Linked DNA regions of Homo sapiens: all the other regions are linked to region 1. The links are contacts of gene promoters, found by promoter capture Hi-C in human tissues and cell types (Jung and others, 2019). All regions are on one chromosome and are shown on one strand. Each heading gives the region's core, a stretch centred on a gene start or on the middle of the fragment in contact. The rest is flanking DNA. Distances are from core to core; before and after follow the strand shown. Region 1 holds the start of LGALS9 (galectin 9). Region 2 has its middle 96 kb from the start of MIR4522. Region 3 has its middle 43 kb from the start of MIR4522. Region 4 has its middle 23 kb from the start of MIR4522. Region 5 overlaps WSB1 (WD repeat and SOCS box containing 1). Region 6 holds the start of LINC03146 (long intergenic non-protein coding RNA 3146). Region 7 has its middle 27 kb from the start of LINC03146.

What was found. Contacts are between HindIII fragments. The study calls those that stand out against the background at their distance.
Region 2: a contact is called between a fragment that was not itself captured here and the fragment with the promoter of LGALS9 in region 1, in 4 of the 25 tissues and cell types used here (aorta, lymphoblastoid cells, small bowel and 1 more).
Region 3: a fragment that was not itself captured here is called in contact with the fragment with the promoter of LGALS9 in region 1 in 4 of the 25 tissues and cell types used here (bladder, lymphoblastoid cells, mesenchymal stem cells and 1 more).
Region 4: a fragment that was not itself captured here is called in contact with the fragment with the promoter of LGALS9 in region 1 in 3 of the 25 tissues and cell types used here (hippocampus, lymphoblastoid cells and mesendoderm cells).
Region 5: a contact is called between a fragment that was not itself captured here and the fragment with the promoter of LGALS9 in region 1, in 5 of the 25 tissues and cell types used here (H1 embryonic stem cells, lymphoblastoid cells, mesenchymal stem cells and 2 more).
Region 6: a contact is called between a fragment that was not itself captured here and the fragment with the promoter of LGALS9 in region 1, in 4 of the 25 tissues and cell types used here (dorsolateral prefrontal cortex, lymphoblastoid cells, spleen and 1 more).
Region 7: a contact is called between a fragment that was not itself captured here and the fragment with the promoter of LGALS9 in region 1, in 3 of the 25 tissues and cell types used here (lymphoblastoid cells, mesendoderm cells and spleen).

Annotation. Positions count from the first base shown.
Region 1 is chr17:27,629,602-27,633,392 of GRCh38, forward strand. LGALS9 (galectin 9) reads left to right here and starts at 1,587. Exons shown (of 11, transcript NM_009587.3): 1 at 1,587-1,703. The coding sequence starts at 1,665. RefSeq lists enhancers at 1,212-2,029, 1,497-1,616. The HindIII fragment of the contact is 14,549 bases long and covers 1-3,791 here.
Region 2 is chr17:27,195,796-27,199,586 of GRCh38, forward strand. No RefSeq gene overlaps it. Among named protein-coding and RNA genes, the nearest start is that of MIR4522, 96 kb to the right of the region's middle. The HindIII fragment of the contact is 6,719 bases long and covers 1-3,791 here.
Region 3 is chr17:27,248,666-27,252,456 of GRCh38, forward strand. No RefSeq gene overlaps it. Among named protein-coding and RNA genes, the nearest start is that of MIR4522, 43 kb to the right of the region's middle. The HindIII fragment of the contact is 3,454 bases long and covers 1-3,377 here.
Region 4 is chr17:27,269,434-27,273,224 of GRCh38, forward strand. No RefSeq gene overlaps it. Among named protein-coding and RNA genes, the nearest start is that of MIR4522, 23 kb to the right of the region's middle. The HindIII fragment of the contact is 6,167 bases long and covers 1-3,791 here.
Region 5 is chr17:27,313,858-27,317,648 of GRCh38, forward strand. WSB1 (WD repeat and SOCS box containing 1) reads left to right here. Exons shown (of 9, transcript NM_015626.10): 9 at 1-2,069. Among named protein-coding and RNA genes, the nearest start is that of LINC03146, 17 kb to the right of the region's middle. The HindIII fragment of the contact is 8,167 bases long and covers 1-3,791 here.
Region 6 is chr17:27,332,080-27,335,870 of GRCh38, forward strand. It overlaps LINC03146 (long intergenic non-protein coding RNA 3146), which reads left to right and starts at 416. Exons shown (of 3, transcript XR_007065677.1): 1 at 416-1,348; 2 at 2,181-2,298. RefSeq lists an enhancer at 467-1,016. The HindIII fragment of the contact is 3,899 bases long and covers 1-3,772 here.
Region 7 is chr17:27,357,629-27,361,419 of GRCh38, forward strand. No RefSeq gene overlaps it. Among named protein-coding and RNA genes, the nearest start is that of LINC03146, 27 kb to the left of the region's middle. The HindIII fragment of the contact is 7,286 bases long and covers 1-3,791 here.

The sequences.
Region 1 (3,791 bases), core at 337-2,836:
CTCACCAAGCAGTTTTTCTTTTTATTTTTTATTTTTCAATTTTTTGAGACAGAGTCTTGCTCTATTACCCAGGCTGGAGTGCAGTGGCGTGATGAGGGTTCACTACAGCCTTGACCTCCTGGGGTCAAGTGAGCCTCCCACCTCAGCCTCCCATGTAGCTGAGACCACAGGTGTGCACCACCACACCTGGCTAATTTGTTTGTTAAATTATATGTAGGGACAGGGTCTTCCAACCTTTCCCGAGCTGGTCTCAAGCTCCTGGGCTGAAGTGATCCTCCTGCCTCAGCCTCTCAAAGTGCTGGTATTATAGGCATAAGCCACCACGCCCTGCCCATTTTTCTAAGTTGGATTATTTTACACTCCAGTCTGCTGTGAATGAGAGTTCCAGTTGTTGCGTATCGCAATCAATTTGTGATTGCCTACAAATGATGTGCCGTGATGAAATTGTCCCTGGTGTCCGAGAGGATCGCAAAGAATTTCCCTTCCTTTCTCTCCTTTCTGCTCCCCTTGTACTGTCTACTCCTTAAACTGGTACTTGATCCAGGAACATAATGGGGATGGACAGTGCAGATGGCACACATGGCCTCAGTCTATTGGAGCATCTCAAAGGAATTAGTCTGCAAATTCTAGTGCATCTAGGTGGAGCACAGGAAGGAAGAGAGGTGCAGACTCACGTATGGCCCTGGGGCACCTGCCATCCTCTCGCACCCGTACAGCCCTTACCTGCCAGCACTTACCCTACCCAGCTTGAGTTCTGGGCCTTCTCACCAGCACATCGCTGGGACCTGGTCGACTTCAGGTAAGTTTATTTCATGGCTCCCTCCCCCACGACCTGCACATGCCATATGTTCCTTCCCAGCCCCATGTCACTTGAAATGTTCTATCATGTCCAAGACTTCTCTCCTCATCCTAAAGTGCAGAAAATAAGGATGGAGAAGAGAAGGAGAAGAGAATCAAGAGAGATTCATTGAGAGGGAGGATCAGAAGCTCCTGGGCACCCCATACTGTAGAATAAAAATATTCATTATGGTGTTTTTCTTGCAAAATATTCCCCTCTACATAATTATGTTTTTACATGAATAATATAAATTTAAACAGGAGAAATACTTTTTGAAGAGTCTGAGAATCTTCATAAAGTTCAGGCGGCCACGAATTAGCTGTGTGACCTGGGGCATGCCCCTTAGACTCTGAGCCTCAGCTTCTCTGTATGTAAAATGGGTTGAAGCCGCCCTTCCCCACAAGCACCCTGTGCACAGGCAATGCCCAGCCCCATTATTTTCTGGACTCCGTGGCCAAGCATGCTTAGGACACACAGCCACATACTTCTGGGCAGTGTCATCTGGCAACTTGCTGTCATGTCAGTGTGGTCAAGCATTGTAGACCTCTATGAACCAAATATGCTTCAGGCTTGGGTTGAGCACAGGAGAGGGAGGAGGGAAAGGTCACTGGGGCTGGGAGTGCCTACTTCCCTCTGTGAGTGTCACCCCAGTCCACCCAGTACCATACCTTTCTCTCTCTGGACCCACTTCCTTTTGCTGCCGGCTCCTCCCCATTGAATAACAGCCAAGTTGCTTTGGTTTCTATTTCTTTGTTAAGTCGTTCCCTCTACAAAGGACTTCCTAGTGGGTGTGAAAGGCAGCGGTGGCCACAGAGGCGGCGGAGAGATGGCCTTCAGCGGTTCCCAGGCTCCCTACCTGAGTCCAGTGAGTTCCAGGGCTATGGGCACAGGGCTGCCTCAGCCAGAGGGACACAGCTCTGGGGCTCTGAGGAAGCAACTCCTGGGTGGCAGGGGATGGGGGTGGGGGCATCCCAAAGAGAACACAAGCAGGGCAGAAATATCAGAGGAGGTCATCCTGGCACACCTGTGCCGTGCTGAGCTCACTCATGCCTGGAGGGATGCTCCTTCCCACGAGTCATGGCTTTGACAGTGTTGACTGAGCTGTCCTGTCCTGTCCTGTCCTGTGTGCTCAGGGGAAGACATGTAGAGCGGGGTGGTTCATGTAAAGAGGAAGCAAGCACGCTTCTGGGACAGTAAGGACGCTACCCGGCATGGTAGTTAAGGGTGCTTACTGTGAAGGTGGCCTCCCTGGGTCCAGCTATTTACTGGCTGGTGGTCTCTGGGCCTCAGTTTCCATATCTGTGAAGTGGGAATAATACTTGAGCCCCCCACTCCCAGGGTTGGGATATGGATTAAGGAAGTAGTGTATCTAGTGTGTTTGAACAGTGCCTGACACACTGTAGGTGCTTTGGGAGTGTTTCATGTTATTGGGTGTCTGAGGGCAGCAGGGAAGACCTCCCGAGGAGGTGTCTGTGCTCTGAAGGTTGGGCATGGGCATGTTCAGGGCATCTGTGGAGGGGCAGTCTCAGAGGTGAGAGGGGGGTGAGGACTGTCCCTGCAGCGTGGGGTCAGAGGGCGGCAGGTGCCTTGCTGAAACCCTGTGAGGTTTATGAGTCCCCTTCATACACGGAAAATCTGAGGCTCAGGGAGGCAGAGGCCAGTTGCCAAATGCCTCCAGATGGGAGTGGCAGCCCCAGGAGCCCAGGAGACTTCAGGGGTCACTGTGTCCTGGGCCGGCTCCTGTCATAGGATCTCACCCCGCCTTGGCAAAGAGCTTCCCGAGGGGCTGGAGAGGGTGGGCTGATGGGTCCTTCCTGGGTGGGGAGGCAGGGTGGGGAGGGTGGGCAGAGGCAGGGTACTGAGGGAGGGAAGCTGCCATGGCCCACCTCAGCAGAGGCCAGGGTCGGGCTTGAGTGCCCCCTGGTGACACTGAGTCCAGAATGAGGCTGCCTACGTTCTGGTCTGCAGAGCTCGGCTCTGCTTTCTAAACTCCAGAGAGAAAGAATGGGGAAAGGAGGCCTGTTTCCTCCTGGCTGTCACCAATGACACCTCAGCCACCCTGTGGAGGCCCCTGAGGTAGGACCTGCACAGAGGGGGCTGGGGGAAGCTGGAACAGGCCGCTGGTGGGGGCCTTAGGGTCAGCAGGTGCTGCCTTGGGCATGTCACCCTGTCTCTGGTTTTCTGTCAAAGAGGGGATCCCAGAGCTTCTTCCAGGTTCTGACATATTATTATTCTGGTGACTGGTTTTTACTTTCTAATCCTTGGATTCAGAAGGAAAATTATCCTACGGACATCAGAGAGTTAAAACAGGGCCTTGGAGTCCAGACAAGAAAGATGATCAGTGCAGCCCCTATGGGTGTCCAGAGTACCCCTCTACCCCACGGGGGCTCCCCTGGGTTGGGACAATTAAGCCTCACTTGGTGACCCATCTGGCAGTCGGAGCCACGCTTCCTCCACATGCCGACAGTGGGGGAAGGTCACGCGGTTCGCTGTCCTGCTGAGGAGGGCTGAGTGCCATGAGGGCCTGGCTTGGAAACCTCACTCCCACTTCTTGTCTGGCCTCATCTAGCCCAGCCTCTTTGGAGGGCCTGGGGGAAGCTGGAACCACGTGCTGTGTGGTCCAGGAAGCACTGGGAGAGCCAGGAATAAGGATGTTCTCAGCTTACTCATGAGAGGAAGCCTGTGTGGTGGTTAGAAGCGTGGGTGCTGGGGTTCAAATCCCAGCTCTGTTGCTGACCAGTTGTGTAACTTTGAGCAAGTGACTGAACTTTTCTGTGCCTCAGTTTCCTCATCTGTAAAAGTGGCCGGGGTTGCTGTGAGGATAAATGTTCCTAGTCATGCCCAGAGCCCTCATGGACACACATGGATCCAAATGCCACAGCAGCCTTAGCTGGTCAACCTCAAAACAACACATTTGTTCTTACAGTGTTGGAGGTCAGAAGTCTAAAATCAA
Region 2 (3,791 bases), core at 404-2,903, 430 kb before region 1:
CATTCTTGTGGCACAATCTATGGAGGGACATTTCAGAGCTCATTGAGGCCTATATTTGTAAAACAAAATATCCTGCTATAAAAACTGGAAACAAGCTATCTGTGAAAATGCTTGGTGATGTGTGGATTCAACTCACAGAGTTAAACCTTGGTTTTGATTCAGCAGGATGGAAACACTTTTTTTGTAAAATCTACAAAGGGGAGGTTGGAAACACTCTTTTTATGAAATCTACGAAGATACATTTTGGAGCCCATTGAGGCCTATAGTGAAAAACTGAGTATCCCACAATTAAAACTAGAAAGAAGCTATCCGTGAACTGCCTGGTGATGTGAGGATTCATTTGACAGAGTTAAATCTTTGTTTTAATTCAGCAGATTGGAAACACTCTTTTGTAGAATCTGCGAAGGGACATTTCGGAGCCCATTGAGGCCTATGGTGGAAAACCAAATATCCCATGATAAAAACTAGAAACAAGTTATATGTGAAAATGTTTTGTGATGTTTGGATTCATCTCAGAATTAAACCTTTGTTTGGTTTCAGCTTGTTGGAAATACTCTTTTGGTAGAATCTTCAAAGAGACATTTTAGAGCCCATTGAGGCCTACAGTGGAAAACCGAATATCCCACAATAAAAACTAGAAACAAGCTATCAGTGAAAATGCTTTGTGATGTGTTTATTCATTTTACAGAGTTAAACCTTTGTTTTGATTCAGCAGGTTAAAAAACACTCTTTCATAGAATCTATGAAGCAATATTTCTAAGCCATTGAGGTCTATACTGAAAAACTGAATATCTCACGATAAAAAGTAGAAACTAGCTATTGGTGAAAATGCTTTCTGATGTGAGGATTCATCTCACAGAGTTAAACCTTGGTATTGATTCAGCAGGCTGGAAACATCCTTTTTGTAAAATCTACAAAGGGATATTTTGGAGACCATTGAGGCCTATAGTGAAAGACCAAATATCCTGTGATTAAAACTAGAAACAAGCTATCCATGAAAATGCTTTGCAATGTTTGGATTTATTTTACAGGGTTAAACCTTTATTTGGTTCAGTAGGTTGGAAACACTCTTTTTGTAGAATCTATGAGGGGACATTTTAGAGCCCATTGAGGCCTACAGTAAAAAACCCAACATCCCACTATAAAAACTAGAAACAACTATCTGTGCACATACTTTGTGATGTGTGGATTCATCTCACAGAGTTAAACCTTTGTTTTGATTCAGCAGATAGGAAACGCTCTTCTTGTAGAATCTAAGAAGGGACACTTCAGAGCCTATTTAGGCCTATAGTGAATAACCACATATCCCGTGATAAAAACTAGAAACAATCTATCTGTGAAAATGCTTTGCTAAGTGTGGATTCATCTCACAGATTTAAACCTTTATTTTAATTAAGAAGGTTGAAAACACTCTTTTAGTAAAATCTACGAAAGGCAGGTTGGAAGCACTCTATTTTTAGAATCTACAAAGGGACTTTTTGGAGCCCATTGAGGCCTATAGTGAAAAAACCTATATCCCAAGATAAAAACTAGAAACAAGCTATCAGTGAAAATGCTTTGCCATGTGTTCATTCATTTCACAGAGTCAAACCGTTGTTTTGATTCAGCAGGTTGGTAATGTGGGCAGCAAGCCACCCAGGCACCGAGGCAAGAGACAGAGGACACAAGCTGTTCCAGCATAATAAAATATAAAACAAGAATAGTTATACCAGATATAGATCTTAGATATGATTATATATGAATATCATTAATCATTGGTTTGTAGTAATTACTTTTTATTCCAATATTATGATAATCCTCACTCTATAACATAGCCTAGGAAAAACCAGGCCATACAGAGATAGGAGCTGAGGGGACATAGTGAGGTGTGACCAGAAGACAAGAGTGCGAGCCTTCTGTTATGCCCGGACAAGGCCACCAGAGGGCTCCTTGGTCTAGCGGTGACACCAGCATCTGGGAAGACGCCCATTACCAGGCGGATCATGGTCCAGCGGTAGCAAAAGGCATCAAGGAACAACACCCGCTACTTAGCAGACCGGGAAAGGGTGGGGGGGGGGGGGTCTCCCTTTCCCCAGGGGAGTTTAGAGAAGACTCTGCTCCTCCACCTCTTGTGGAGGGCCTGACATCAGTCAGGCTCGCCCGCAGTTATCCGGAGGCCTAACCATCTCCCTGTGATGCTGTGCTTCAGTGGTCACACTCCTAGTCTGCCTTCATGTTCCATCCTGTACACCTGGCTCTGCCTTCCAGATAGCAGTAGTAAATTAGTGAAAATACTAATAGTCCCTGATATGCAAAATAATGGCGTAAGCTGTCTTTCCTTTTGTCTCCTCTCCCTCTCTGCCTCAGCTGCCAGGCAGGGAAGGGCCCCCTGTCCAGTGGACACGTGACCCACGTGACCTTACCTATCATTGGAGGTGACTCACATTCTTTACCCTGCCCCTTCTGCCTTGTATCCAATAAATAACAGTGCAGCCAGACATTCGGGGCCACTACTGGTCTCCGCACATTGGTGGTAGTGGTCCCCCGGGCCCAGCTGCCTTTTCTCTTGTCTCTTTGTCTTGTGTCTTTATTTCTACACTCTCTCATCGCTGCACACAGGGAGAGACCTACCGACCCTGTGGGGCTGGTCCCCACAGTAAGACTTTTTTATAGAATCTACAATGGGACGTTTCATAGCCCATTGATGCCTATAGTGAAAAACCAAATATCCCGCAATAAAATCTAGAAACTAGATATTTGTGAAAATGCCTTAGGATGTGTGTGCAAACACAGCCATGTTTGCTAAAGGGAATAGCACAAAGATAATCTGACCCAGATGGCCCATATCCATCCTCAGCCTCAGATCCTGGTGAGTCTGAGCCTCTCCCCAGCTCCTGCTACCTCTGATGGGTCTTCAGGACTTGCTTGTCATAGCAGGGCTGATACTCCTGCTGAGTTCCCCCATTTGAGTGAGGACATGTCTGGAGAGAGGAGAGAGCTGGAACAGAGTCTTCCCAGTGATTTCCAGTGACTCAAAGAGGTTTTCCCAAAAGTCTTATAGTAGAAGATAGAGAAAGTGGGGCATTACAGAGAAAGCGGGGCGTTCAGGGCCAGACCTTAGGAGAATCCTCTACCCCAACCCAGTGAAGGCCTAATCTTGTGCTACTTTCCCTTGTAACACTGGGAGAATCAGATTCATCAAGAACTTTCACCTTTCCTCTACTGAATTTCGGTTCCCTTTCCAATGGTTCCAACATGCCCAGTAAAGTGAGTTGTTCCATCTGTACAACCTGGGGTGGTGTGGTGAAGGGGAAAGAGACCAGCTCCTTCTCCCACTTCCCAGTGAGGCCTATGAAGAGGCAACTAGACTCTTTCTACCAAGTGGATGAACTCAGGCCTAGAGTTGGAGTTAGCAGACCACTGTGCAGAAGCCATGGCCCTCAGCAGAGATAGGAACAATGAGAAACAAATGTGTGACTATAGGAACTGCTTCTTTTTTTTTTTTTTTGAGATGGAGTCTTGCTCTTTTGCCCAGGCTGCAGTGCAGTGGCATGATCTTGGCTCACTGCAATCTCCACCACCTGTGATCAAGCAATTCTCATGCCTCAGCCTCCCAAGTATCTGGGATCACATGCACGTGCCACCATGCCTGGCTAATTTTTGTATTTTTAGTAGAGATGGGGTTTCACCATGTTGGCCAGGCTGGTCTCAAACTCCTAGCCTCAAGTGATCCACTGCCTCAGCCTCCCAAAGTGCTGGGATTACATACAGGATGTGTTCTAAGTGGACGACTCAAGGTATACATAAAACCA
Region 3 (3,791 bases), core at 401-2,900, 380 kb before region 1:
GAAGACTAATGATATTTAGCATCTTCTCATGTGATTATTGGAAATTTGTATATCTTCTTTGGAGAAATGTCTATTTTGGTCCTTTGGTCCTTTGCCCATTTATAATTGGATATTTGTCTTTTTTATTATTGATTGTAACAGTTCTTTTTATATTCTAGTGTGGTGTCTTATTTTAATCTTTTTGAAATAAATGTTTTCTCAGTCATACTCATATACTCTAGAGCAGCAGTGTGTTTGAATCCAAAGAACACACACAGGCAAGGCAGGGTGGCTCACGCCTGTAAACCCAGCACTATGGGAGGCCAAGGTAGGCAGACTACTTGAGGTCACGAGTTTGAGACCAGCCTGGCCAACATGGTGAAACCCTGTCTGTACTAAAAGTACAAAAATTATGGCTGGGCACAGTGGCTCACTGCTGTAATTCCAACACTTTGGGAGGCCAAGGCAGGCGGATCACGAGGTCAGGAGTTTGAGACCAGCCTGACCAACATGGTGAAACCCCGTCTCTATTAAAAATGCAAAAATTAGCACTTTAGAGAATCTCACGGTTCCAAGATGGCCGAATAGGAACAGCTCTGGTCTGCAGCTCCCAGCACAATCGACACAGAAGACGGGTGATTTTTGCATTTCCAACTGAGGTACCTGGTTCATCTCATTGGGACTGGTTGGACAGTGGGTGCAGCCCATGGAGGGCCAGCCGAAGCAGGGCAGGACATCAGCTCAACAGGGAAGTGCAAGGGGTTGGGGGGATTCCCTTTCCTAGCCAAGGGAAGCCGTGACAGATTGCAGCTGGAAAATCGGGATACTGCCACCCAAATACTGCACTTTTCCAATGGTCTTAGCAAATGGCACACCAGGAGATTATATCTCACACCTGGCTCAGCAGGTCCCACGCCCATGGAGACTTGCTCACTGCTAGCACAGCAGTCCGAGATTGAGCTACAGGCGGCAGCCTGGCTAGGGGAAGGGCGTCTGCCATTGCTGAGGCTTGAGTAGGTAAAAAAAAGCAGCTGGTAAGCTCGAACTGGGTGCAGCCCACCACAGCTCAATGAGGCCTGCCTGCCTCTGTAGACTTCACCTCTGGGGCAGGGGATAGCTGAACAAAAGGCAGCAGAAACTTCTGCAGACTTGAACATCCCTGTCTCACAGCACTGAAGAGAACAGTGGTTCTCCCAGCACAGTGTTTGACCTCTGAGAACAGAAAGACTGCCTCCTCAAGTGGATCCCGAACCCCTATGTAGCCTAACTGGGAGATACCTCCCAGTAGGGGCTGACTGACATCTCAAATAGGTGGGTGCCCCTCTGGGATGAAGCTTCCAGAGGAAGGATCAGGCAGCAATATGTGCTGTTCTGCAATATTTGCTGCTCTGCAGCCTCCACTGGTGATACCCAGGAAAACAGGGTCTGGAGTGGACCTCCAGCAAACTCCAACAGACCAGCAGCTGTACCTGACTGTTAGAAGCAAAACTAACAAACAGAAAGGAATGGCATCAACATCAACAAAAAGGACATCCACACCAAAACCCCATCTGTAGGTCACCATTATCAAAGACCAAAGGTAGATAAAACCACAAATGGGGAGAAATCAGAGCTGAAAATTCTAAAAACCAGAGTGCCTCTTCTCCTCCAAAGGATGGCAGCTCCTCACCAGCAATGGAACAAAGCTGGATGGAGAATGACTTTGACGAGTTGACAGAAGTAGGCTTCAGAAGGTCAATAATAACAAACTTCTCCGAGCTAAAGGAGGATGTTTGAACCCATCGCAAGGAAGCTAAAAACCTTGAAAAAAGATTAGATGAGTGGCTAACTAGAATAAACAGAGTAAAGAAGACCTTAAATGACCTGATGGAGCTGAAAACCATGGCAGGAGAACTACGTGACACATGCACAAGATTCAGTAGCCGATTCGATCAAGTGGAAGAAAGTGTATCAGTGATTGAAGATCAAATTAATGAAATGAAGCAAGAAGAGAAGTTTAGAGAAAAAAGAGTAAAAAGAAACGAACAAAGCCTCCGAGAAATATGGGACTACAGGAAAGACCAAATCTACATTTGGCTGCTGTACCTGAAAGTGACAGGGAGAATGGAACCAAGCTGGAAAACACTCTTCAGGGTATTATCCAGGAGAACTTCCCCAACCTAGCAAGGCAGGCCAACATTCAAATTTAGGAAATACAGACAACACCACAAAGATACTCCTCAAGAAGAGCAACCCCAAGACACATAATTGTCAGATTCACCAAGGTTGAAATGAAGGAAAAAATGTTAAGGGCAGCCACAGAGAAAGGTCAGGTTATCCAGAAAGGGAAGCCCATCAGACTAACAGCTGATCTCTTCGTCAGAAACTCTATAAGCCAGAAGAGAGTGGGGGCCAACATTCAACATTCTTAAAGAAAGGAATTTTCAACCCAGAATTTGATATCCAGCCAAACTAAGCTTCATAAGTGAAGGAGAAATAAAATACTTTACAGACAAGCAAATGCTGAGAGATTTTGTTACCACCAAGCCTGCCTTACAAGAGCTCCTGAAGGAAGCTCTAAACATGGAAAGGAACAACCGGTACCAGCCACTGCAAAACCATGCCAAATTCTAAAGACCATCGACACTATGAAGAAACAGCATCAACTAATGGGCAAAATAACCAGCTAACATCATAATGAAAGGATCAAATTCACACATAACAATATTAACCTTAAATGTAAATGGGCTAAATGCCCCAATTAAAAGACACAGACTGGCAAATTAGATAAAGAGTCAAGACCCATCAGTGTGCTGTATTCAGCAAACCTATCTCACATGCAGAGACACACATAGGCTCAAAATAAAGGGATGGAGGAAGATCTACCAAGCAAATGGAAAGCAAAAAAAAGCAGGGATTGCAATCCTAGTCTCTGATAAAACAGACTTTAAACCAACAAAGATCAAAAAAGATAAAGAAGGCCATTACATAATGGTAAAGGGATCAATTCAACAAGAAGAGCTAACTATTCTAAATATATGTGCACCCAATACAGGAGCACCCAGTTTCATAAAGCAAGTCCTTAGAGACCTACAAAGAGACTTAGACTCCCACACAATAATAATGGGAGAGTTTAACACCCCACTCTCAATATTAGACAGACCAACAAGACAGAAGGTTAACAAGGATATCCAGGACTTGAACTCAGCTGTGCACCAAGCTGACCTAATAGACATCTACAGAACTCTCCACCACAAATCAACAGAATATACATTCTTCTCAGCACCACATCGCACTTATTCCAAAATTGACCACATAGTTGGAAGAAAAGCACTCCTCAGCAAATGTAAAATAACAGAAATCACAGCAAACTGTCTCTCAGACCACAGTGCAATCAAATTAGAACTCAGGAATAAGAAACCCACTCAAAACTGCACAACTACATGGAAACTGAACAACCTGCTCCTGAATGACTACTGGGTACATAATGAAATGAAGGCAGAAATAAAGATGTTTTTTTAAACCAATGAGAACAAAGACATAACATACTAGAGTCTCTGGGACACATTTAAAGCAGCGTGTAGAGGGAAATTTATACCACTAAATGCCCACAAGAGAAAGCAGAAAAGATCTAAAACTGACACCCTAACATCACAATTAAAAGAACTAGAGAAACAAGAGCAAACAAATTCAAAAGCTAGCAGAAGGCAAGAAATAACAGATCGGAGCAGAACTGAAGGAGCTAGAGACACAAAAAACCCTTTAAAAAATCAATGAATCCAGGAGCTGGTTTTTTGAAAAGATCAACAAAATTGATATACCGCTAACAAGCC
Region 4 (3,791 bases), core at 540-3,039, 360 kb before region 1:
AGCTCCTTCTGCCTCAGAGACTTTGGAGAAGCTGGGCTGGCTGCCTGGGCTCCACCTTGTCTCACCTGAAATGCTACCTTCTATTGCTAAGCCTTTCCTGATCTATCAGTCTAGAGGGCATGCTCTCTGCTGAAGCCACTTTCTAGCATATCATTGTGTTTTATTTTTTTTCACAGAATACATCTCCATCTAGAATTCCCATGAGTCTGTTTCTTGTTTGTTTGTTCATTCCCTGTCTCCCTCCAGTACAATGAAAGCTTCATGACTGCAGAGACCTCATCTGCCTCCATAGCTGCTGCATTGCCAACACCTAGAACAGTTTCAGGGACATAATAGGTGCTCAATAAACATTCATTGAAAACACAAACAAGCAAACTTCCCAGCATCGCTGATCTCCCACTTGCCACTTGGATTGATTGCATGCATGCTTGAATTTGCTCCTCTGTTATGGAGACTCCACCCTCCATTTACACCTCTTTCTGGAAATCCTGATAAACCTCTCAGATCAAGCCCTGTCCCTGGAATTTTCTCTAGCACTGGGAAAGGAAAGCTCATGCACAGTTTGACTTTGTGTGTTTAAACTTTTGGTGATTGGAGTAACTGCTTCCTATTTCACAGCCACTCGACTCTGTAGAGAAATATTTCTATAAGCATTTTGCCCTCAGTCTTGCTCCTTCTGCATGTTGACTTTGTGCTCTGAGACAACAGCCCTGCTTCCTGGCAGCACCTGAGCCTCACATCCAAGGAGGCCACCAACAGTGACGTGCTGATTCTCCCTCCTAAGTTTCTGTTTGAAAACTCCTGGAGGACGCCGGGTGTGGTGGCTCACGACTGTAATCCCAGCACTTTGGAAGGCCGAGGTGGGCACATCACCTGAGGCCAGGAGTTCAAAACCAGCCTGACCAACATGGTGAAACTGTCTCTACTAAAAATACGAAAATTAGCCAGGCTTGGTGGCATGAGCCTGTAATCTCAGCTACTCAGGAGGCTGAGGGAGGAGAATCACCTGAACCCGGGAGGCAGAGGTTGCAGTGAGCTGCAATCATACCACTGGACTCCAGCCTGGGTGACAGAGTGAGACTCCATCTCCAGTAAATAAATAAATAAATAATATGGTTTGGCTGTGTCCCCACCCAAATCTCAACTTGAATTGTATCTCCCAGAATTCTCACATGTTGTGGGAGGGACCCAGGGGGAGGTAATTAAATCATGGGGGCGGTCTTTCCCAAGCTATTCTCGTAATAGTGATTAAGTCTCGTGAGATCTGATGGGTTTATCAGGGGCTTCCACTTTTGCTTCTTCCTTATTTTCTCTTGCTGCCACCCTGTAAGAAGTGCCTTTCACCTCCCACCATAATTCTGAGCCCTCCCCAGCCATATGGAACTGTAAGTCCAATTAAACCTCTTTTTCTTCCCAGTCTTGGGTATATGTTTATCAGCAGCGTGAAAATGGACTAACACAATAAATAAATAAATATTTTTAATTTCAAATATGCAGCTTTTAAAACCAGGTTGGGAAAACTTCTTTAATTTTTAAGATTCAAGAAGTTTTTTTTAAATGATGAGAAATGTTCCCAATTACATTTCAAAGCTACGATGTGGCAGTTACAGTTCTAACGCAGTTATTTAAGAGCAAAGCTTGTGAAACGTATCACTTCTGACAAATTCTTCACTTTCCTCAGTTATGGTTAAGGCTCTCTTGAGTCCTCTCAAATTCTAACCATTCTATTTGTGGCCTGAAACCTTATCCCAGTTGTCCACATCATCTTTAAGCCAGCAACCAAGTAGAAAGGACTGTGTTTATTGTACTTCTCAAAACGTGGGATAGCAGAATCACTTGACGTGGTTGTAAAAACACAGATTGCTGAGCTGCACCCTAGGCATAGTAACTGGAGGGTCTCTGGGGGTGAGTCCAGAACATTTTTTTTTTTTTTGAGGCAGAATCTCACTGTGTTGCTCAGTCTGGAGTGCAGTGGCAAGATCTCAGCTCATTGCAACCTCCGCCTCCCAGGTTCAAGCGATTCTCCTACCTCAGCCTCCCGAATAGCTGGAATTACAGGCATGTGCCACCACGCCCAGCTAATTTTTGTATTTTTAGTAGAGATGGGGTTTTGTCATGTTGGCCAGGCTGGTCTCGAACTCCTGACCTCAGGTGATCCACCCACCTTGGTCTCCCAAATGCTGGGATTACAGGGGTAAGCCACTGCATCTGGCCCAGAGCACTTTTCTTAATACTCAAAATTTTATAGGTATCCAGCTTCACCTACCCTACCCTCTACAGAACAGCATGCATTGTTCTTACTTGTTAAACATTACAAATAGCAATTCTCAGATTCCACTGTGGTGATGAGAGACAAACTTAAGCCTACGTACTTAAAAATAAAGCAAAAGAAATTTATTTAAATGCCAAAAAGTAAGAAAATACACGCAAACTACTAGAGAGATCATTCATTTGAAGGTCTTTGGTTTGTGTTTGTTTTATTTTAAATAAGATGTTCATTTAAAATGAAGGGGTTGTGCATTAAAAGTCTTGCTCTGCTATATTTTATTTTATTTTGAGACAGAGTCTTACTCTGTCACCCAGGCTGGAGTGTAGTGGTGCAATCTTGGTTCATTACAATTGCCACCTCCCAGGTACAAGTGATTCTTTTACCTCAGCCTCCCAAGTAGCTGGGATTACAGGCAAGTGCCACCATGCCTGGCTAATTTTTGTATTTTTAGTAAAGATGGAGTTTCGCCATGTTAGCCAGGCTGGTCTTGAACTCCTGACCTCAGGTGATCCACCAGCCTTGGCCTCCCAAAGAGCTGGGATTACAGGCATGGGCCTCCCAAAGTGCTGGGATTACAGGGTTGAGCCCCCACACCCGGCCTATTTTATTACTTTATGGTACGAGGAATACAATTTCAGAAACCTTGATTCATCCAGCAGTTTTCTTAATTTGGGCAAATGTCCCTGATGATGGATTTCTATGTAGTTTCCGGAGATTAAATACCACTATTATTCTTTTTTTCTCATACAAATAATTTTTCCCAAAAGGTGCACATGGGGTCCCAGGAATGTTAGATGACTCTTCCATTGCCCTCTTGCCAAAGGCAAGAGGATGCGGACTTGAATCCTGAAAATAATTTTTAAAAACTTTTTTTTTTTTTTTTTGAGACAGGGTCTCACTCTGTCACACAGGCTGGAGTCCAATGGCGCAATCTTGGCTCACTGCAACTTCCACCTCCCTAGTTCAAGCAATCCTCCTGCCTCAGCCTCCCAAGTAGCTGGGATTACAGGCATGCACCACCACGATTGGCTAATTTTTTTTTTGTATTTTTGGTAGAGACGGGAGACGGGGTCTTTCCCTATTGTTCAGGCTGGTCTTGAACTCCTGGGTTCAAGTGATCTGCCTGCCTCGGCCTTCCAAAGTGCTGGGATTATAGGCGTGAGCCACTGCGCCTGGCCTAAAAATACTTTTTAATATTTAAAGATTCATAAACAATTAACATGATTTTGAGAAAAGAGGAGCAAAGGAATAGACTGTCTCTACCAGACATTACAATGCCACAGCAAGAAAAAGCGTGACACTGTCATACAAACAGGCAAAATAGAGAGACAGAATAGAATAGAGTCCAGAAAGAGACACAGTTATGTGTGAGGGAAGGATGTAGAGTTGGGAAACCTGATTCACTAAATGGATTTTTTAAAATGGCTCTCCAGGCATGGTGGCATGTGCTTGTAGTCCCAGCTACTCAGGAGGCTGAGGTAGGAGGATTGCTTGACCCCAGGAGGCTGAGGCTGCAGTGAGC
Region 5 (3,791 bases), core at 559-3,058, 320 kb before region 1:
CATAGGGAAGCTCTAGAACACAGGAAGGTGACTACTAAGCAAGAGAAAAGTATCTTTTAGTGGGGAACTACCAGCCTATAGTAAGTCTATCTGGTTAAAGTAGTTATTATGAAAATCTAGCAGTCTGGGTCCTTTGAGAAGGCATTAAAAAAGCAAAACTCTTATGAGCCATGTGTGATTTTGAAGACTCATTTCCACTGAGAAATTATTTGGAAGTTCCTATGGTTAGCTCTGTTAAGGAATGTAAAAATTTATAGGGGGTGTAGGGTTATCAATTTGAAAGCCAGTAGAAAATCTGCTCAAGTTACTTCTTGAGGATCATCTGTATTTTACAAAAAGAAGCACAAGAAGCATCTAATCTTTATACTTCTTGTGACTTTTTTTCCCCTGCATTTTACTTTGTAATATATCGGCTTTATAATTTTAAAATACACTGGCCGGGCGCAGTGGCCCACACCTATAATCCCAGCACTTTGGGAGGCCAAGGCAGGTGGGTCACTTAAGGCCGGGAGTTCATGACAAGCCTGACCAACATAGTGAAACCCCTGTCTCTACTAAAATTACAAAAATTAGCTGGGCATGGTGGTGGGTTCCTGTACTCCTAGCTACTTAGGAGGCTGAGGCAAGAGAATTGCTTGAACTGGAGAAATGGAGGTTGCAGTGAGCTGAGATCACGCAACTGCACTCCAGCCTGGGTGACAGAGTAAGACTCTAAATAAATAAGATACCATTACTTTTCATATCATTGCATTATTTTTGCTTTCCACACCAACATATCCAGTCAAGTAAAAACAGCTTTTTTTATTTTTTATTTTTTATTTTTTTTGAGACGGAGTCTCACACTGTCACCTGGGCTGGAGTGCAGTGGTGCGATCTTGGCTCACTGCAGCCTCCACCTCCTGGGTTCAAGCAATTCTCCTGCCTCAGCCTCCCAAGCAGCTGGGATTACAGGCGCTCCCCCACCACGCCCAGCTAATTTTTGTTGTATTTTTAGGACAGACGGCGTTTCACTGTTGGCCAGACTGGTCTCAAACTCCTGACCTCGTGATCCGCCCGCCTCGGCCTCCCAGAGTGCTGGGATTATAGGTGTGAGCCACCGAACCTGGCCCAAAACAGCATTTTTGGAAGCTACATTCTGTGAGATGTTCACCTGTTTGCCACCTCTTCTCGTGAAAACCATAGTGAGTGCCAGTGTGAAAGGAAGATTGCAGCGTATATGTCAAGTAGAAACATGTTTGAATTTTCCATTTGTCTGTGGGGAAGAAGGTAATAACAGTAATAACAGACTGAAGGACCAAAGGAAAATAGGGAAGACGTTGATTATGGACTTGGATCAGATTCTAGCTACATGATTTGAAAATGACACTGCCTCTCCTATTTTGCCACAAGCCTGTCATTTGGAGAACTGGCAGATCATTTATGTTCAGATTTAATTTTCTGTTTTAGAATCCCATGGAGTACATGTGAACATAGGAAAATCACACTCAGCAGCCAAGCTATCCTTTTGCGATAATGAAATCACTTTAAAACCTATAACTTGATCTTAGGTTGGCAAATCTTAAACTTAACGATCCTTGAAATTTCCTGCCTGCTGTGACTGTGATGCAGTTGGATTCAACTGGTTTACACTGCTCTTGGGTCGGCAAGACCAAAAAAGGTTGGACTGCACTGTAGCATGCTTATGGGTTGAGGCAGTGGCAGAGGCAGAGGACTTGGCCGTCAGCCAGCCAGCACAGGCGTAAGAAAATAGCATGAGAAGTTTCACGAGCCTGAAACCATTGAGACAGTGATTACAACCTCCATATTAATCAGATGAGGGTTTGTAGGTGACATAGCATTTTACCCAAGTAATTCTGAACAGACTGTGGCTTATGATAATACATTTTAACTAGCAAGTGTGTGGACTATAAAACAAATATCTAGAGTTATATATGGATGTACTATCATTTGGTGATAAAAGCATAGAAAAAGCATAAGTTGGAGTATACTGGGTTTTTTTGTTGTTGTTAAATTCTTTTCCATCAGAAGTAAGAGCTGTTGGCAGCAACTAATAAAATGCAACCTAGTGACATGCTCGTCATAACCTTGGCAGATGTTTATGGTAAGATGCTTGGAAGGAATGAACGTAAGTAGGCAATCTCAACCTGCCCTTTGATCCATAAAGCATTCTTTAGCCACCAGCAAAAATCTGGTCTGAGCCAGGTATAAAGTGACCTGTTTTATTACAGGTGGGTGGGGTAGCTTTGTGTGGTTGTTTTTTGACATTATGTATGCTTTTATTTTTTACTTTGAGGTAGGATCTCGCTCTGTCACCCAAGCTGGAGTGCAGTGGTGCAATCTCAGCTCACTGCATACTCTGCCTCCCCTGGTTCAAGTGGTTCTCGTGCATAAGCCACCTGAGTAGCTGGGATTACAGGCGTGAGCTGGGCCAATTTTTGTATTTTTAGTAGAGATAGGGTTTCATCATGTTGGCCAGGCTCGTCTTGAACTCCTGGCCTCAAGTGATCTGCCCATCTTGGCCTCCCAAAGTGCTGGGATTACGGGCATGAGCCACAGTGCCTGACCAGTCTAGGCTTATCTTAACAGTTGAGGAATCAGAAAATGATTGAATAGGGCTGGAATTGGAGAAGGAAAAAATGATTTAATTCAATTTTTATCAACTCCAGCACTATTTTCTCTATTAGAGACTACTGTCATTATCCTTCTGGTTTCTGTTTTAAAGATACTGATTAAGGAATTTTCTTTATAGTTCCACATAACAGTTGGTCTTCTGGTCTGAAAGTAGTATTACAGGTTTTGTTAGGAAAACCTATAATACAGTGTTGCCTGTCACCGTCATTATAGTGAGTTTGTGTTTGTTTGGTTTTAAATAAGGCTGAAGCATCAATGGCTCTTTCTGAAAAAATTGTTCTCCAAAAGTAAAGTGTGAGCTATAGAAATCATCTAGAACAGGGGTGTCCAATCTTTTGGCTTCCTTGGGCTACATTGGAAGAATTGTCTTGGGCCACACATAAAATACACTAACTGATGAGCTTAAAAAAGAATTACAAAAACAATCTCATAATGTTATTAAGAAGGTTTACGAATTTGTGTTGGGCCACGTTCAAAGCCATCCTGGGCCACATGTGGCCCGTGGGCTACACGTTGGACAAACTTGCTCGAGTATAGATCAGTAAGTAAGAGAAATGAAATGGCTACTCCACTGGGTCGTTTTATGCTTCCGAATTGTTGAATAATAATGAAATGTTCTTATAAAAAATAGATTAAGGATGATGGGCATTAGAGAGATACCTGAGAAAGATAATGATTAAAATAGATCCAAGAGGCCAGGTGCAGTGGCCCTCGCCTGTAATCCCAGCACTTTGGGAGGCCAAGGCAGGCAGATCACCTGAGGTCAGGAGTTCGAGACCAGCCGGCTAACATGGTGAAACCCCGTTTCTACTAAAAATACAAAAAATTAACCCAGCATGGTGGCATGCGTCTGTAATCCCAGCTACTCAGGAGGCTGAGGCAGGACAATCGCCTGAACCCGGGAGGCGGAGGTTGCGGTGAGCCAAGATTGCACCATTGTACTCCAGCCTGGGCAACAAGAGTGAAACTCCATCTCAAAAAAAAAAAGCCAAGAATGAGGCTGATATTAAACAGAAATATATATATATATGTATATATATATATTTTTTGACACGGAGACTCGCTCTGTTGCCCAGACTGGAATGCAGTGGTGCAGGCTCAGCGCACCACAACCTCCGCCTCCCGGGTTCAAGAGATTCTCCTGTCTCAGCCTCCTGAGT
Region 6 (3,791 bases), core at 573-3,072, 300 kb before region 1:
ATGAGGTCTTCATGCTGCTCAGGCCCATGGCTGACCTCCTCTCCTCTGGAGTGGTCCATCCCTACCAGATCTCCTCCTGTCCAGCTGAGCAGACCAGGCCTATACAGGCTGCTTCTGGCTCCACTGAGGCCCAGGAGCTTACACCTTTGGACCGGGTGTCAAAAGTGTCCTTCTTATTAGCAAAAAGAATTTTGGAGGGAAAAACAAATGACATCCTCAGACATCCTAGGGCAGAGTCAGAAGCAGAGAGGAGACTGAATGGGCTCGGGTGGGTGTGGAAGGTCACTGCAGGCCGCCATAGGACAGGCCTGGGCTCACAGGAGCAGGATGTGGGGAGGGGGATTGCCAGGCAGGGGTGGGGACCAAAGTGAAGGCCACCTGGTGGGAGCCAGTCAGAGGGGTGGGGCAGGGTTAGATCACAAGGGAATCCAATGCCAGGGGGCCAGGGGATGTTTTGCAATGTGGGCAACTGAACCTGAGATGTGACAAGACCAGTGATTTGGCGACCTGCCCAGGCAGGCCCAGCCCCCAGGGTATTGAGATGACACATTCTAAACTCAGGTGACCCGGGCCTTGGGAGTGCACTAGCAACTGGCTGTCAGTCACGGGGCTCTTCAGATATTTGTCACGTGAATGAGCCAGACAGTAAGTGGAGATGCCCTTCCTAGTCACCTACTGCCGGCGTTCACGCTGTGAACCAGCGAACTAGGCCACCGGCCTGACCCAGTTTTCCCTGTGGCCTGCCAAGCCAAGGAGAAGCAGACGCGGCCGGCGCAGGCGTCCAGGGTGACTCGGAGGCGTGGCTCTGCAGTCGCGGCTCTGCAGTCGCCTTGGAGCGGCTGCCCTTCCGACCCCGCCTGGGCTATGACTCATCTTCGGTGGAGGAGAAAGGGGCCTTTGTGAGCGCCCAGCTCCGGCGTCTCCTGGACAGCACCGCCCTCCGGTGGCCGCGAGTCAGGAGGGCTGGGGAAGCCGCCCGAGAGGCAGCGCCCGAGCTCCCCACGAGCTGCTGTGCCATTGGAAGCGCCAGCGCCCTCCCCTCGGAGTCCAGCCAAGTCGGGGGGAAGACTGGGAGAGAAATCGTCACCCCCTAGAGGGCAAGTGGGCTCAGCCCTAGGAAATGCTTGTTTCTCCAGCCCCTCCCAGACGCCCCGGGGAAACGGCATCCCAGAGCTCCGCTCCCTGGAGGCCCCTCCAGAGAGGGACCCGGGGCCCCGCCCCGCAGCTGGAGAAGGGGTGAATGCCTTTCCTACCTAACGCCTGGTCCGCGGCCCTGCTTGTTGCGTCTCCAAGACCACGTGTCTGCTGCATTTTAAAAATAGTTGTGAACATCTGACTTTCTCCTTTTGTGAGTTGCCTATTCATATCCTTGGTCTGCTTTTCTATTTTCTATTTTTTCTCTTGTTGACGTACAGAAGCACTTTAAAAATGTCAGTTCTGTCGAATGTGTTGCAAATATTTTTCTAAGCTTAGAATTTTACCTTCTGATTTTGTTTTTGGTGATATTTGATACACCACACGACATTTTGATGTGGGATGACCTTTTGATGTTTTTCTTTTTCTTTCTTTAGTTTTTTATTTTTGAGTCAGCGCCTCACTCTGTCACCCAGGCTGGAGTACAGTGGCGTGATCTTGGCTCCCTGCAGTCTCCGCCTCCCGGCTCAAGCCATCCTCCCACCTTAGCCTCCCTAGTAGCTGGAACCACAGGTGCACACCACTACGCCCGGCTAATTTTTGTATCTTTTGTAGAGAGGAGGTCTCGCTATGTTGCCCAGGCTGGTCTTGAACTCCTGGGCTCAAGCAACCTGCCTGCCTTGGGCCTCCCAAAGTGCTGGGATTACAGGCTTGAGCCACTACTCCCGGCCTTGATGTTTTCCTTTATTCTTTCTCCCTTTTGTTTTTTTTTAATTGTAAAACTGCTCCCATCTGAGTATCACACAGACATTTCAGATCTATATTTTTTCTTTTCTGCTCCTCTTCCCCCCTTCCCTTCCTCCATTTCCTCTTACTCCTTCATTTGGCTTTTAAACCCACCTGGGACTAATTTTGATATAAACTGGAAGATAAAGATCTAAACTTATTTTTTTCTGAATAGTCAACTTTTCATATGTCATTATTCAGGCTTTCTCTCTTGTTTGTTTGTTTGTTTGTTTTGAGACAGTCTTGCTTTTGTCTCCCAGGCTGGAGTGCAGTGGCACAATCTCTGCTCACTGCAACCTCGGCTTCTCAGGTTCAAGCGAGTCTCCTGGCTCAGCCTTCCCAGTAGCTGGGATTACAGGCGCGTGCCACCATGCCCGGGTAAGTTTTGCATTTTTAGTAGAGATGGGTTTTCGCCATGTTGACCAGGTTGGTCTTGAATTCCTGACATCAAATGATCCACCCGCCTCGCCCTCCCAAAGTGCTGGGATTACAGACGTGGGTCACCATGCCCAGCCCAGCCTTTCTCTTTTAGTAGAATATTTCCTCACTGGTTTGAAATATCACTTTGATTATAAACTAAATGCTCGGGCCTATTTCTGGCCAGGACCCTGACCTTATACATTAAGCCAAAGGATATGGACTTCTTAAAAAAATCATATTAGGCCGCTAATTATGGATTTAGGACATTTATTCACATTGTTTTAGGCTCCAACTAAAAGCAGGCTTGAATGAAGCAGCTGCACAGGAAAACTGGATAGGAAAGATTTCATTTAAAAGGACATAAACATTTTAAATTCTTTTTAAAAATTTATTATTATTTATTTTTAATAGAGACAGGGTCTGGCTTTGTTGCCCAGGCTGGCTTTGAACTCCTGGGCTCAAGCAGTCGTCTTGCCTCAGCTTCCTAAAGTGCTGGGATTACAGGCATGAGCCACCACACCTGGCCAACATTTTCTTTTCTTTTCTTTTTTTTAATTTTCTTTTTTTTATTTTATTATTATTATACTTTAAGTTTTAGGGTACATGTGCACAATGTGCAGGTTAGTTACATATGTATACATGTCTGGCCAACATTTTCAATTCTTATTATACAAAATGTCAAACCTTCCTCCAGAATGGACATAAATAGACTAATGCATATCCTCCCAGAAGCATATGAGAATGCCCTTTTCACTACACCGTTCTGAGGTTGAGTATTATTTGTAAAACTATGTCCTAGTTTGAAAGGAAAAATAGGATCTCATTGTTCTCTCATAATTTGCATTTCTTTAATGCTTGAGAGTGAATTTTTTCATGGTCATTTATAAAATACCTAGATATAAGCTTGACACAAAATGTGCATGTCCTATAAACAACAAAAACTTAACTAAGAGGTTTTAAATAAAGTTTACATACATGGAAAGGCATGTGATACTCGTGAATGGAAAGATGCCAGTTCTGGCCAAATTAATATATAAGTTTTGTGTGATTCTTTTTTTTAACACATTTTTTCTTATTTTTAAAAAAATTAGAGACAGCCTCTTGCTGTGTTGCCCAGGCTGAAGTGCAGTGGTGTGCTCATGGCTCACTGTAACCTCAAACTCCTGAGCTCCTGTGATCCTCCCACCTCAGCCTCCCAAGTAGCTAGGACTACAGGTGCATGCCACCACGCCCAGCTAATTTTTGTATTTTTAATTTTTTTTGTAGAGATGGTGTCTTGCTGTGTTGCCCAGGTTAGTCTCAAATTCTTTTTTTTTTTTTTTTTTGGAAAGAGTCTCACTCTGTCCCCCAGGCTGGAGTGCAGTGGTGCGATCTTGGCTCATTGCAACCTCCACATCCCTAGTTCAAGCAATTCTCACGCCTCAGCCTCCTGAGTAGCTGGGATTACAGAT
Region 7 (3,791 bases), core at 340-2,839, 270 kb before region 1:
CACGCCTATAATCCCAGCACTTAGGGAGGCTGAGGCTGGAGGATCACTTGAGCCCAAGAGTTCAAGACCAGCCTGGACGACGTGGTGAAACCCCAACTCTACAAAAAATACATAGATTAGCAGGGCATGGTGGTGTGTACCTGTAGTCCTAGCTACTCGGGAGGCTGAGGTGAGAGGATCAGTTTGAGCCCGGGAGGCTGAGGCTTCAGTGAGCAGACATCACACCATTGTACTCCAGCTTGGGCACCAGAGTGAGACCCAATCTCAAAAAACAAAAGCAAAAAGACAAAAACCCAAAGAATAAATAAATAAAAGGAGGAACGGTGGACAGAGGGAAAAAAGGAAGGGACTTATTAATTAATTTGCTCCTCACCTTCCGCACATTCGCTTGAAAGAGACCTGTTGCTTTAAATGCCACCCCCAAGGCTGGGAGTTTGTCAACCCCCACAGAAGAGGAACGCTGGGCTGGGGCCAGCCCTACAGAGACTCATCGCCATTCCACCTCTGACCATAGCATCACACCCAGTTTCTGCTTGTTCTGTTTTTTGTTGTTGTAAATTTTATGATTCAATATACATGCCCAAAATAATCAAAATCAGAAGTTGACAGTTTGATGAATTTTCAACGTGAGCAGATCCACGTAAGCGCACCCAAATTAAGAAAGAGAATGCAAACAGCTCCTGCCCTGTGCTGCCTTCAGGCACTATGCTCCCTAAGGCTGACCCTTCTTCTAACCCTAGCAGCATTAATTTTCCTGCTTTGTATTTTATTTTATTGTATTAATTTAATTTAATTTTATATTATGTTTTTTTATTATTTTATTTTATTTTGAGACAGAGTCTTGCTCCATTGCCCAGGCTGGAGTGTAGTGGCGCTATCTTGGCTCACTGCAACCTCTGCCTCAACCTCTGCCTCCCAGGTTTAAGTGATTCTCCTGCCTCAGCCTCCAGAGTGGCTAGGACTAACAGGCACACGCCATCATGCCTGGCTGATTTTTGTATTTTTAGTAGAGACAGGGTTTCACCATGGTGGCCAGTCTGGTCTCGAACTCCTGGCCTCAAGTGATCCACCTGCCTCGGCCTCCCAAAGTGCTGGGATTACAGGCGTGAGCCACCGTGCCCGGCCTACTTTATTTTATTTTATTTTGTGAGATAAGGTCTTGCTCTATCACCCAGGCTGGAGTGCAGTGATGTAATCACAGCTCACTGCGGCCTCCACCTCCTGGGCTCAAGTGATCCTCCCAGCTCAGACTACAGGCATGTGCCACCACGCCTGGCTGATTTTTTTGTCTTTTTGCAGAGACGGAGTCTAATTGTTTCCTAGGCTGATCTTGAACTCTTGGGCTCAAGCAGTCCACCCGACTTGGCCTCCCAAAGTGCTGGGATTACAGGTGTGAGCCACCGTGCCTGGCTGTATTTTATATAAATATAACATTACAATATATATTCTTTTGGCTCTAACTTCTTCTGGTTAATGCTGTGTACGTGAGATTTATTCATGTTGTGGTTCATTCATTCTCATTGCTCTATAATATATTCCATGGTATAAGTAAGCCACAATTTCTTTATTCATTCTGTTGCTGATGGATGTTTAAGTGATTTCCATTTGTTGGCTATTAAGCATATTGCTTCTGTGACCATTCTTGTACCTGTCTTGGGAAACATATGTGTGTATTCATGCTGGGTATGTACCTAGATGTGGACTGCTGGGTCAGAGGCAAGGTATATGCTCAACTTAGCAGAAACTTGCCATTTTCCAAAGTGACTGGAACAATTTTCGCTTCCACGGGCCATGTATGAGAGTTCCGGTTGCTTGTCGTGCTCACCAATACTTGGCCGTACCTGTTTTTCATTTGTTCACTTTATTTTTTGTGTTGTATGTTTTTGGCCAGCTATTCTGGTGGGCGGATTGTTCCATTTTTGACCACATGCTCCTTCCCCCTGGCAGTCTGCTCCAGCTCTGTTTCTGGTACATTCTGCAAAACCAACTTCTCTGGTTCTTGACTCTTGTCCTATAGTTCTTTTTGTTTTTGTTTTTAGAGGTGGGGCCTCACTCTGTTGCCCAGGTTGGAGTGCAGTGGCATGATCATAGCTCACTTCAGCCCTGACCTCCTAGGCTCAAGTGATCCTCTTGCCTGAGCCTTCTGAGTAGCTGGGACCACAGGCAGGCACCACCACTTCTGGCAAATTTTTTTTATTTTTATTTTTTTAGAGATGAGGTCTTGCTATGTTGCCCAGGCTGGTCTCAAACTCCCTGGCTCAAGCGATCCTCTAGCCTTGGCCTCCTGAGTAGCTGGGATTACAGGCATAAACCACCATGCCCTGTGCCTTGCAGTCTTGCTCTAGGGTTTGTCTTCAACCCTGCAGACCTGAGACAGGCCTCTCAGCTGCTCTCAAGAACGCCCTTCCATGAGAGGCATTCCAGCCTCAGGTGGCAGCTCCTGCAGGATATGGACCCCGGGGATAAGGATGGGGAAGAGGATGAGGGTGTCGGGAGCTGTCTCCAAAGCCTGCGCAGGCCCTTCCCACAATCTCATCTTACTCATTTAGCCACTTTGTGGGCCCCCATCTTATTATACTCAAAACGTTGGGTAGACATAAAGCTAAATATACGTGCTAAAACTATTAAACTCTTAGAAGAAAATAGAGGGGAAAATATTCACTAGATTAGGTTTGGAAGTCATTTTTTAGCTATGACATCCAAAGCATAAGCAACCCAAGAAACATTTGATAAATTGGACTTCATCAAAATTTAAAACTTTCATGCTTCAAGGGACACTGTGAAAAGAGTGAAAAGACAACCCACAGAATGGGAGAAAATATTTGCACATCATAAATCTGATAAAGGACTTGTATTTAGAATAGAGAAAGAACACTTGGAACTTATATGTTAGTGCGAAAGTAACTGCGGTTTTGCCATTAAAAGTTTGCCATTACCTTTAACAGCAAAACCGCAATTACTTTTGCACTAATCTAGTAATGTGATCTGATCAAAGCCACCAGAAGCTGGAGGAGGACTGTGGCCCTGCTGACACTTGGGTTTCAGGCTTGTAGCCTCCAGACCTGTGGGAGAATAAATGTCTTTTGTTTCAAGCCACGAAGTTTGTAGCAATGGCAGCCCTACGAAATGAATGCAGGAAATTACACTGATGTAGCAAAACGTTTGAAAGCCTGTTTCCCTAAGTACGTGTGTGTGGGTGTGGGTGTGGGGGTGTGTGTGTGTGTGTGTGTGTCCCTGTCCTTGCATGTGTGGCGGCTGCTGCCTTCCCCTCACTCCCAACTTCCACCATTCAAATAACCTCATCTACCTTTCAGCACTTTCCATAGAAACCCAGCCTGCCAGGCCTGGTGGCTCACACCTGTAATCCCAGCACTTTGGCCAAGGCAGGAGGAGCATTTGAGCCCAGGAGTTTGAGACCAGCCTGGGCAACACAGTGAGGCTGTCTCTACAAAATATTTGAAAAATTAGCTGGGCCTAGTGGTGCATGCCTGTAGTCCCAGCTACTTGGCAGGAGGATCACTTGGGCCCAGGAGTTGGAGGCTGCAGTGAGCTGTGATTGTGCCACTGCACTCCAGCCTGGGTGACAGAGCAAGACCCCATCTCTGAAAAGAAGAAAAAGAAACCCAGCCAGCGCCCCAGCAGTTCTCCCGCCCGCAGCCCACTATAAAGTCCAACAGTTGGGTGGGCCAACGCAACGTTCCTTAGTCATAGAAAGAGGAGGAGAACGGGAATGCCCATCTCACTCTTCCCTGTGGAAATCTTTCTCAGGGCATGGCTGCACGGTCCTCCTA